Linked DNA regions of Homo sapiens: all the other regions are linked to region 3. Evidence: promoter capture Hi-C in human tissues and cell types (Jung and others, 2019). All regions are on one chromosome and are shown on one strand. The core of a region is centred on a gene start or on the middle of the fragment in contact, and the rest is flanking DNA. Distances in the headings are between cores, read along the strand shown.

Region 1 (3,998 bases), core at 59-2,558, 560 kb before region 3:
GCTTTTAAAAAGACAGCAGTCAACCATAATCACAGCAGTTTCTGAACCTAACTAAACATGAATAGTTAACTGATCTTATAATTATTATAATGATTATCACCATGATGTTATGATTATTGTATCATCAACAGCCATCTATTAAATACCAATATGGGATGGCACAATTGGGAATAAACCGTAGCCTTGCTTAGTGGACATTTATAGTCAGCTCTTTTATATGTTTCTTATGCTCTATATCTGCTCCTATATATGAATACTGAACACATCAGCCCAATATAAACTTTACCAGCTTACCTTCTTTCACAGTAACGTTGGTTAAAAAAAAAAAGAAATAGATGCATTTTATTTATACCCTTTTATATTTCCTACGTAACATTTGATCAGGTAATTTCAAGAACAAATCGAATGATAAAATGTGATCTCTCTGTACTAGTTTTTCAAAAAGTGTGTGAAACAGACTGAAAAAGAAATAACAGTTACTGAATATTAATATTATATACTTAACTACATATTTCACCTTCCTCAAAGTAAAAAAAAGAAAGCTGAACAGAAATCAGAGAAATGCAAGCTAAAACAATGCATTGATATGATACTATACTCATTGATTCACAGATAATAAAAAGCTGGGATATAAGCAGTAGAGACTTTAACCCACTGGTGGTGGGAATATAAGTAGATACCACTGCTTGAAAAACAATTTGAGAATAGTTTAGTAAATACACATCATTTCATGCAGCTACTTTATCTGTAGGTACATATCCAAAATAAATTTTTGCACAGGGTACAAGGAAAAATATATTAAAATGTAATTGCAAAAAACAGGAAAAACTTCAATCCCAAATATCTGTAAACAGGAGAATGAAGAAATAAATTATGGTAGATTTATACAATAAAATGCTATAAAGCAACTAAAGTGTATGAATTGAAGTTTTCTGGGTAAAACGGATAAATTTCAAAAACACTGTTTCAGGAAACAAAGCAACATATAGAAGGAAAGTTGATAACATATGTAAAATTTAGAGAGTAAAGTAGACCTCTAGATTGTTTTAAAAGTACAAATCATGCATTCATATTATAAATATAAAAATTGTATTAGTGGCTTCTGAAGAGGGTGCAAGAGAAAAGAATGTAATAAAAGAGGGGCACACAGAGACTTACAACTGTATCTTTAATGTTTTGTTTCTTTAAAAAATATGAGGCCGGGCACGGTGGCTCACGCCTGTAATCCCAGCACTTTGGGAGGCTGAGGTGGACAAATCACGAGCTCAGGAGTTCGAGACCAGCCTGGCCAACATGGTGAAACCCCATCTCTACTAAAAATGAAAAAAAAAAAATTAGCTGGGTGTAGTGGCCGGCACCTGTAATCCCAGCTACTTCAGAGGCTGAGGCAGCAGAATCACTTGAATCCGGGAGGCAGAGGTTGCAGCGAGCCGAGATCGCACCACTGCATTTATTCCAGTCCAGGTGACAGAGTGAGACTCCACCTCAAAAAAAAAAAAAAAAAAAAAAAAAGTGAAATAAAAGTTGAATATGCTGAAATCTGGCAGTTAGGTGGTAGATACATAGGTGTTCATTATACTATTCTTCATACTTCTTTTCACTCTTCAAATATCTCATAATTTAAAATAAGTATTTGGACTGCCTGGGGTTATAGTTTATTATTAGCAGAGCCAGGATTAGATTAGAGAGCATCTGGTTGTCATAATCAGAAGAGAACAAGCTGGAGTCAAGAGTATACACACAACTGCCCATGCAGAAAAAGAAAAAATGTGTACTTGCCATTTCCACACTGTGATCACAGATGTCACCCACAAACCATATTAACAGCTAACATTTTTAAGCACTGATTAGATACTTTGCTGAGTGTTTCATGTGGATTATGGCATTAGGATAAGATGGAAACATGAGTCAGATTTAAACAAGATCTAAAATGCACTATAGTGGAGTGCCCATTACTGAAAGGGAATGTGGGTTGCAAAAGGCATTCAAAAGGTAAATGAATAATGTGTTTGGGCTTGAAGTGATGTCAGACATGATAGAACCCACATTTCTCCATTTGTAGTCAAATTATTATTCTACTTTAAACTGATTTAGACAGTAGCCTATGAATAAAATATCAGAAATTATGAAAGTCATGTTTTGAATTCTGTTGATCACAGTAAAGGTAAGAAATAGAATTGAATGAGAACAAACTGGTAAGAAAAAGAGAATGCATTAGACTTCAGAAAACTTATAAGATTCCTTAAATAGGTCATGGAATACTTGTAGTTGATAATAATAATGGTCATTTATTGAACATTTAATATGTGCCAACCACTGTTCTCAGGGCTTTGCAAACATTAACTTATTTAATTTTCACAATGATCCTGTGAATTAGATGCCAAGGTTTTTATTTCCTTTTTTTTTTTTTTTTTTTTTTTGACAGAGTCTTGCTTTGTTGCCCAGGCTGGAGTGCAGGGGGTGATCTTCATTCACTGTAGCTTCAAACTCATGGGCTCAAGCAATCCTCCTACCTAAGCCCTCATCCTCCTGTGTAGATGGGACTATGGGCATGCACCACCACGCCTAGCTATTTTTTTAAATTTTTTGTAGAGATAGAGTCTCACCATGTTGCCCAGAACTCCTGGGCTCAAGCCATCCTACTGTGTCAGCTTTCCAAAGTGTTGAGATTTCAAGCGTGAACCACCACCCCTGGCCTAGGTTTTTCTCCTTTACAGAAGTGATCACCAAATTATAGATCTTCAGTGATTTTTCCAAACTTACAAAACTAGTCTATGACAAAGACAGAATTCCAGGGCTCACATTCTTAACCACAGTGCAGTGCCGACAGTCGTGGGATGAAAACGTGATTTTAAAAAATATATTCACAGATAGTGGCTCACAAGAAAGAAGTAAAGGCAACATCATACTTAATAGCCATAAGAATACTGTCTGATAAGAAAAACATACATACAGGTAGAGTAATTGTACAGAAAACACTGTAGACATGCTGGATCATTAGAATATACTAGTAAAATAGTCACCATTGAATGAATGCTTCTAGAGATCATGATCTGATTAAATTATATCAATTTCAAGGAGATGAAACTGAAGGCAGTACCAGTCATGGCCTGGGGGATGGGCACCCCTATTCTAAATGACACTCATTTCTACTCAGTAAAGTTAAAGAGAAGGGAAGGGCAATGAGGGATATGATTCCTGGGGCATCACAAGGAAACAATTCTTTGCTAGGCATTTTATAGAAAGCAAAGATGTAGAAACATTACATTTTGCCTCTCTTACTCAGCCATTGCCCTTTGGTGATACAAGTCATGTGAGAAGAGTGAAAAGCAAATGTGGCCAAAGTGTCAAGCACCATAAAGCAAAGGAAATGTTCAGTTTTCAGTCTTCTGTGAAAACTGGACAGCATCAATTCATGAGCAGTGGTACATTAAATAGCGGCAAAGAGACCCCAGGGATTAAGTACTGGGTGTATCAGTCCATTGGCAATAAAGGAATGCTTATTTTAGTACAGAATTCCTGGGTGTCTGGAGAGAATGTGCAGCAGTAAAATGATCAAACAATTTTGGAATGGAAGCTGGGAAAGGGAAAGTGTCAGCAGAGAGGGCGGAAGAAATATCTTATCGAAGCTTCTGCCCTATGATTTCACTCTGAGAAGTGGGTCACGGTAGTAAGGAGAGGACAAGGAAGAGTGATAGCAAAGGGCAAAGCTCTTTTTTAGACCAAGGCATCCATCCAAATTAGAACCTGAGAGGCAAGGTAACAAACAGCAAAGTATTATTATTCAAAGTAAATAATAGCTTTGTCTACAAATTAAAATGGAATAGTTTTAAGATATGTACATCATAGCATAATCTGTTCATAAAGCTTCAGCTATTTTGGGTTTAGCAAATACAGTGATTACAATCTTGGTAAGTACTATTGTGTACAAACCAAAAATGTATATGTAGAATGCAGATTACAGTATTTATGCTAATCTAGATGGCAGGACTCCCATA
Region 2 (4,006 bases), core at 579-3,078, 520 kb before region 3:
AGCCATTGTAAAATTTCTGAATTATTTTGGAATATAAGCAATGAAAAGGCAATGATATTTTACTAAAAGACCTCACAGATATTAAAATGGTAAAAAGTCATGTTTGAAATAACTGTAACCATATGAAATACTTGGTTGTGACACACACACACATACACACACACACACACCGTTTGCCAAGATTCTACCATGAAGTAATTTTCTATCTTTAAATTCATCACCATTTATTTTTTAAAAGCATTGAAGTTTTATATTATTTATATCTCAGAAGACACAGAATATTCAGTATTCAGCCCTAAGCATCTCTACTGGGGTGGGATGATGGGCAGGGAAACCAGTAATTGGTCTAAGGCTGCATCTGCCAGGCACATGGATCAGTCATTTGTTTGTCTCTGTGTTTTGTGCTATTGGACATCAGACATTGGAAGTTTTACTATATCTCTGTTAATGGTAACTTTATTAAAGCAAGAGAGTAACATTCACAGGAAAATGGCAGAAATATAATATCATCCAATATATTTAAGAAGCATAGTCCTTTTTTTAAAAAATAGGCTGATGGCATCAAAAAGGATGGCATCAAAGAGGATCTTTTAAAAATCTTTCTTACAAAAAGCAAATATTTTACATTGTGTTTAGGATTATGGACTTTATTTAATAAAAGTATTAGATAATTTATTTTCTTTGTTTCTACCATGATTCAAATGAAATCTGATTATTCATTGAAACCTCATTTATAAGACAGAAGTCCTGGAATTCATCCAAGTATTATTCACTAAAGACTTAGTGAAACAAATTATGCCATATCCATTTACTTCAAAATTCTGCTTGTGGTGAATTTTAGTTAGTAATTTAGGTGATTTAATAAATATACTTCTATTTTCTAATGCAAACCTTAACCCATTGTACCAATGGATTTTTTTTTGACAACACTCTTAATCATTAAGTCTTGTCCAGCATTAACATTTTATGTGCAATGATTCTGTGGTTTTCTTAAGTGGATACTGTCACTGAGATTTGTGCCAGTATTGCTGATCAATTCATTACTTTTTAGTTTTCTGTTCTTTTGGTTTTAGCAGATTTGCTTTTTAGATTAGCTCATTTGTCCAGACTTAGGGAAATGAATTGAGGTTGAAGTGAGTAGTCTCCCACACATAAATAAAGCAGAAATCCATAGAACATAAAGGAGCCTGAGAGTATCAGCTTCCTGCTGTCAGGTGCTATGAAACAAAATAACATGGATGCTGTGACCATCTGAAATTCATATCTAGTGAGCTGGTAGCCTCGGCTTCATGGCTTCTCTAGTGACATTAAACAGCATTCTCATTGTAGAATTAATGATTCTCTCTTTCCTGTATTAAATTTTCAAAAAGATTATGAATTTATTAATTTTATTGAAAATGGATAAATCTGAGAAATCATTTATATTAACTTTTGATCTGCTTTATCCCTTACAAGTTTCTTCGTTTTATTTGCCCATGAATTTTCTTAGGTTTAATTTTCAATCCTCATTTTACAAAGCTAAAAAAAAAAAGGGTAAAAACAGTCATTAAATTTACTTTTGGACTTCATTTTCTCAATTTAAAATTGGACAACTTTCCAAAAATATTTACTCAGAACCAATTATATACACTGTGCAAAATTAAAACATTTGCCCTCCAAGGAAGAATAATGTCCAGCTTGGGAAACAAAGCTGGAAAATATTATGTACCATTCTGTTTAGAACTGGCTTTCGGTTATAGTTTAAAAGGTAGTGGGGTTAGAAGGGAATATCTGGAGACTGAAATAAATACTAAGGAGTTGAAGGTGGTGAAACTTGAATTCAGTCGACAAGGATGGTTTGGGTTTGGATAGGGAGGAAGGGCACATTTAATAAACAAAGGATATTTAAGGACAATTGAATAGATACACCAAAATATTGAATTGTAAGTCCCCTTATTATATCAAATCACCTAACTTAAAGATATTTACTACTTCCTTTAAGTAAGAGAATTTGTCCTAATTATGTTCTCAAAGACTAATAACAGCTGGGATATGAATGTAGGCTATTTGAGTCATATTACTTTCCAGCTTCCCAGTACTCTGGCTTACTTTTATAAAATACGTGTTTTTGTTCAGTTTAGTTTTAGTTTTCTTACTCAGTGGCAAAAATTGAACCCAAAGCTTGCATTCTTTTTTGTTATTTTTCTCATTTATACCTCTTTCTAAAATGAGAGAATCACAAATGCACTGGTAATTGCTGTTAAAATGATTCACTGTATAAATACATTGTAAAACCCATGTAAACTATATCACCACTAAACATTAAAAGTACATTTTGTGGTTCTGTTTAAATGAATCTACTTAATTAATAAATCATAGTTTCATGTTTTCTGAGTTAGTTTAAAAATCACAGATTTAATTTTTCATGAGATAATCTAATGGTCTTTAGAGCAACCATTGTCTTTATAATAATTATATTGTTTCCTTCCTACCCCAAGAAGGAAAATCTGATTTATATAATGACATATAGCTATAGAAACTATATATAATTATGTATATATTTATATGATGAAACATATACAGAGATGTAAGGCTTTCTTTGATTAATTTAATAATATTACAAAATGAAGCAGCTGAGCTTTATTTAATACAAATGACTGTATTAAACATTTGTGTATCTTTTCTTTCAACAAATATTTATTCAGTTCCTCCAGTGTTCCAGACACTGTTTTGAAAACTACGGATGTAATGGTGAGCAAAAAAATGCTACAGCCCTGTCCTCATGAAACTCTTAGTCTAATGGGAGAGACTAATAAAAATTCAATATATGTTTACATGCTAACTACATGTGTACAAAATTATGTTTTATGTGTTATATATTATCAATACTTCAATGGATGCCATTCTCCAAATTTTGCACAGGAATCACAATGCATGTAAAATGTTGATAGAATGGAAACATTTTGATTATTCAAGCATTTTCTATGCAAATCCAATGCTGTGCCTCACAGTGACCCAAATACTCTGCAGTTCTGAGATTGTGGAGTTGACCACATCATATGCTGTCTGAAATATTTGGCCAGAGGAAACTAATCATCTTTGTTATACTTTTCACAGGGAAGAAGTTAGTAATAGCAACCTTTAAGTACAAAGTCATATCCCAGTTGGGCCATTGGCCAAGGACAACAGATAAACAAATAATAAAACAAAAACCAAATTAACCCAAACCTCTCTCTCAGTACTTCTATGGATACGTCCGCAGGCAACTCCATATCCTTCTTTAATGACTGAGTTCACAAATTTAAATAATAGTTTACTCTAATTTTAGTAATGCCTCTGCTTCCCTCAACACACAAACATACACACACATGTAGAGCACTTGACATCTGGGTAGGCATAAATAATCAAGCATAAATATCATGATTGCTATTTTTGCATCACTGCAGTTGAATAAAACATTGTAAAATATTGTCAGAATACAATAATACATAGTTCTTGTTATGGAAATAACTAATGACTAGATAATTATATGCTTGAAAACATATTTGGTACATGCTTAACCAAATTTATGATATAGCCAACAAAAGGATCAATAAGTCACTCTGAATTAACATTCACATGTAAAATATGTTATAATATACTAAGAAATGTAGTTTTTATATTTCATAATGAGATTTTCCTATTTGATGGTAAGCCACACTGGGTGTAAAATTGTTTTTAATGGGTATAATTTCCAAGTTATAAAAGTTTACTTAAAACACTCAAAAATGAAACAGACAAAAACAGAATATGTAAGAATTGTTGAAACCACACAAAGAGACTGGAATCTGTCTAATGAATAAACTTAAGTGTTATAGTATCGTGTTGTATCAGGGTAATATACGGCCCACTGGGCCTGGGTAGTTGTACTTCACAGTTGATACTTGTGGGGAAAAAGAGAAAGAGAGTGAGGAAGAAAGGAAGGAAGTCAAGGAGAGTCTGTATGATGCCTTCCTGTCCTCCCAAGTACCACCACACTTCAGGAACA
Region 3 (4,168 bases), core at 397-2,896:
CCGGCGGCCGCACCCCGCGCGCTGGCTCATCTGCACACCGGCCACCTGCATTGTCGGCCAGAGCCCCCGTCCCGGCGGCTTCCCCAGCAGCTTGGCTGCCCCTCAGGTCCTCCCATCCCACCTTGCACCTCCAGGACGCCCTGGACCCGCCCATCCTCCTGCCCCACTAGCTCATCGACTTACGACTCCCTCAGTCCCTACGGCCCACGGAACCCTCTCCCCAACCCGCGCCACAGCCCGAGCGGCGGCGGCGGCCTTAAGAAGCCCGCAGTCCCGCCCGCGCCGCCCCGCCGGGGCCGGAGGTTGGAGCCGGGAGCACGGCCGCGAATCCCCGCACGTCCCCAGCGCTCCGCGACACCGGGCCCTGCTCGCTGCAACTCGGGGACGGCCTGCGTCTCGCCTCCACCCTGGCCGCGGGCCCCTCGAGCTTGTTTGCTTGTCCTCAGTCCCAGGGCCAGCCCCGCTCCCTCCTCCCGGCTGCTCCAACAGCCGTTTGCTTCCTGCGGTGTGTTTCTTTTTTCCCCTTCCTAGACTCCATCAAAGGTGGCTCTGTTATTGAAATATGAAGCCATTTCCTCTCCAAAACCCTTGGTTACTCAAGGCGGGAATCAATGGACCTATATACTCTCCCAGAAGTTATAAATAAACGTCTATTTGTTCAGGAGGCGTTTTCCCGCGTGTCCCAGCATCTTCCCCACTGGTTATTTCAGGGGTGTGTGTGTCTGTGTGTGTGTGTGTGTGTGTGTGTGTGTGTGTGTGTGCGCGCGCGCGCCCTGTGCCCATCTGGTTCTAATCCTGGTTATGGATCCACAACCCAACCCCACCCATCCCGTCTCCCCCTCGCATTCCTCGTTCTATAAATAAATCCAGGTTCTTTGAGCTCTGTCATCCAAGGATACAATAGCAGTTGTTTGTTAAGAGAAATTTAAACTCAACACCAATACTGAGTCCAGTAAACCAGAAAATATGCTTCTGGTGATTTGGGTGGAAGGCCATCTCCAGTTTAAGAAGCTTTATGTGCCACTATCATCATTGTCTGTTATCCTTGATCTCCTTTGGTGAGGGGAAGGCGGGAAAGAGAGGACCTCTCCGACCCTTGGATTTTTCTTTTAAGCAGAGGCTAATAAAACAAAGCGCAAACTGACTGTCCTGAGGAGTCTGCTCACACCGCTGCCCCGCAGATCATTCCACAGACCCCTTGTCCCATCCCTTCTGGACAGACCCAGGACTGATGAGGGTTCGGGTTCGGGAGGTGTGGTGTGGTGGGGGCTTGTGTGGCTGTAGCGGCCGGCTTTCCTAAACCCCAGAGCGGGATACTCGGGATCTGAGCAGAGGGGAAAGTCATCTAAGAGGCTGCTGCTTTACAAGGTCTGGGCACAGAGCTGCCCCTCCCTTCCTCCCTGAAGTTTGCATGAAGTGCACATTAGGCTGTAATTAGGGGATTTGGGAGGAGAACTTTCCTGGTGACGCTTTGCTTTTCTTCTGCTCTTGGTGAGAAAGTGCCTCCTTCTTCCCAGGATCAGGACCTCTGCCATCCAGCGCCACAAAGAGACATTCTGCACACACACTCACACACGCACACACACACACACTCTCACACTCGCCCAGAGACAAACTTAAGGTGAGGAGAAAGAGCGCTAGCTTCACTTGATCTCCAGCTTCCAACTTAAGCAGAACTTGAGAGCATCCGAACTCCTGGATTTCAGGACAAGGTAAAACTTGCAAATTGTTTCCCCCTCTTTTGGTTATACCTTTGTGCCTTTAAGATTTCAGAGGGCAATACACATGCAATGTATATATACATTAAACAAATTTTATTCTTTTCTTTTGAGTTTAGTTTTCATTTGAATTTAATATGACACCTCAACTTTTAAAAAAGTTTCATATTGTCGGATAAAATATTTCACTACAATAAACAGGCTCAGTCTAAAAATGGAGAAAGAATTAACTCTAGTATCTTAGCTTCTGCTAGTGCTCCTGTAAATCTGGTAGGGTCATGGTTTCCAAGTGGTGACTTTTCTATCTGTATCTCAACAACCATTTTTATAGCACCTGAGATGAAACAAGGATAGTATAGGCTGAAGGGAAAGGTGAGGAATGGGAATGTCCAGCCAGGCTTATGAATTTTGTTTCAGAGAATATATAGGGTTATGTGAAAAAGAAAGTTACTTTAGGCATAGGTAATACCTGTTAGATTAATAATCTTAGAAATGTTGCCATTTTTGGCCCAGGCTTCCTTCTCCAGCTAATTATGAACTTAAGATCATAGAATGATGATGCATTTCATATATACAATGATGTTGATGGATAATTTGAATGCACTGAAGAGAATTTATAGTCATAGTTAAGATTACTGTTAAAAGTTGCTTAAAGAAATTATTTGTATGTTGAGACTGTTCCCCACCAAAAACAAACCTAAACTTGTTTGGGCTTCGATTAAGTAGTTTTCTTCCATTGAATGTGACTGTTGTGTTCAAAATAAGATGGCTTATTAATTTGAGAATAAGTTGCTTTATTTTCATTTATCACTGGAAAAATACACACAGTGGCCAGTACATTTGGGAATTTTTAGGGTGGAAAGTGTTCCTGTACATGTTCCAGTGTGATGTCATAAAATCAAACATACTGGCTGGCTTCTTGGAAGCTAATAGTTCTTAAGAAATTAAGGCTGTGGATTGATTTCTAAATGAATGTAATATTTATTCATTACAATTGTAGTTTCTGGTAACTATTTCTATGTGATTATTTCTGTGTACTAAATTTGCAGAGATTTTATACACATTTCAGTCATTTCAGTATTTTAATGGAATGGGAATATTGTTCTATCAAAAGTATATCATAGTAGTTATCTTTGGAGAATTTTTAATGTGATATGATTCATAATTCTTATATCAGTTAACAAATTCCATTTACCTACAAAAATGAAAGTTTCTCTTCCATTCAGTAAAATATAATGTATACCAAAGGACTCTTCAGATATTAGCTTTAGTCTTTAGTCACTTTTATACCACCCATTTTAAAAAATTTAATTGTTTCAGCTAAGAAATGAATTTATACTTTTGTTGATGACCTCTTCCACTAAATTGGAAACAGCTTAAAAACAGAACTAGATAAGAAGTAATTTTACTTAAGGCTAATTAAATGAACAAGAGATAACCAACAACCTCAACAGACCACTGCTCTACAGGAGGAATGTACCCAGAGGCCAGTATTCTCGACAGGAATGCCTTATGGGCCTGGGCTTTCTATGAGAAACAAGAAGGTGGGGAAACATTATGTACTTATTTATAAAATGAGCCATTTATTTTCAGCAAGGCCCTGTCTCTCAGAGGAATGACTGACACTGTAATTTAGAAGTACTGAAGAGACTTTCACAGAGAAGAATCAATTCATTATATCCCTAGTGGTTTCACTTCCTTTTCCTTCCTTTGGGAGCAAGTAACACATCCAGGATAAATACATTCAGAGTACACAGAAAGATACTTTATGAGTAAACGGTCTACTAAACAATCCTGCCTTTTAGCATCTTAGGTGTGGAATATTGGTATTTTCTGAACAGTTGAAGAAGTCCTTTGAATCTTAAGATAGCAATGCACTTCATCTTTGTAAAGATGAACAAAAGTTATATTCAGAAAATGACTCCCTTCCTTAGAAAATACTAGTTTTCTTTTTCATTTCTTTTTGCCCCATGCACATTTTATTTTTCAGATTGCATTTTTAAGATCATGATCTCTCACCAGTTAAAATTCTGACGAAATACCAGGCAAATTTGAAAATAATTTTGATAGTGCTTCAAATTAATTTTCTGACATCCTGCAGCCATGAGTAGTAACCATAGTACTTAGTCTATGTCATTTAAGTGTACTTAGCCTGTCATTTAAAGGTAGCAAAATGCTGTTGGAAGAAGTAGGAAAGGATGGAAACCTGAATATACTTAGGATTTTAATCAATAGTGTTTAAGGAGGATTAGAGGAAACAGCTGGTTAAACAATTATTAGGAGTAGAGAGGACGAGGTGGTATAAATTAATAATGCATCTCTTTATTTACACTGAATGGGAGGGTCTGTGGTGGTTAACTGTGTGAAGCATGGTCCCTGTGTGCCACCTAGTGGATAAGTCAAAGAAGGCTTTCTCACCGGCTTCTTAAAATACTCTGACTCCCTCGGTT

What was found. Contacts are between HindIII fragments. The study calls those that stand out against the background at their distance.
Region 1: a contact is called between a fragment that was not itself captured here and the fragment with the promoter of HAPLN1 in region 3, in 1 of the 25 tissues and cell types used here (aorta).
Region 2: a fragment that was not itself captured here is called in contact with the fragment with the promoter of HAPLN1 in region 3 in 1 of the 25 tissues and cell types used here (IMR-90 fibroblasts).

What each region holds. Positions count from the first base shown.
Region 1 is chr5:84,279,370-84,283,367 of GRCh38, reverse strand. All of the region lies in intron 1 of EDIL3 (EGF like repeats and discoidin domains 3), which reads left to right. Among named protein-coding and RNA genes, the nearest start is that of EDIL3-DT, 100 kb to the left of the region's middle. The HindIII fragment of the contact is 4,880 bases long and covers 1-3,748 here.
Region 2 is chr5:84,234,311-84,238,316 of GRCh38, reverse strand. All of the region lies in intron 2 of EDIL3 (EGF like repeats and discoidin domains 3), which reads left to right. Among named protein-coding and RNA genes, the nearest start is that of EDIL3-DT, 150 kb to the left of the region's middle. The HindIII fragment of the contact is 4,508 bases long and covers 1-4,006 here.
Region 3 is chr5:83,718,333-83,722,500 of GRCh38, reverse strand. It overlaps HAPLN1 (hyaluronan and proteoglycan link protein 1), which reads left to right and starts at 1,646. Exons shown (of 5, transcript NM_001884.4): 1 at 1,646-1,712. RefSeq lists a silencer at 2-61. The HindIII fragment of the contact is 27,926 bases long and covers 1-4,168 here.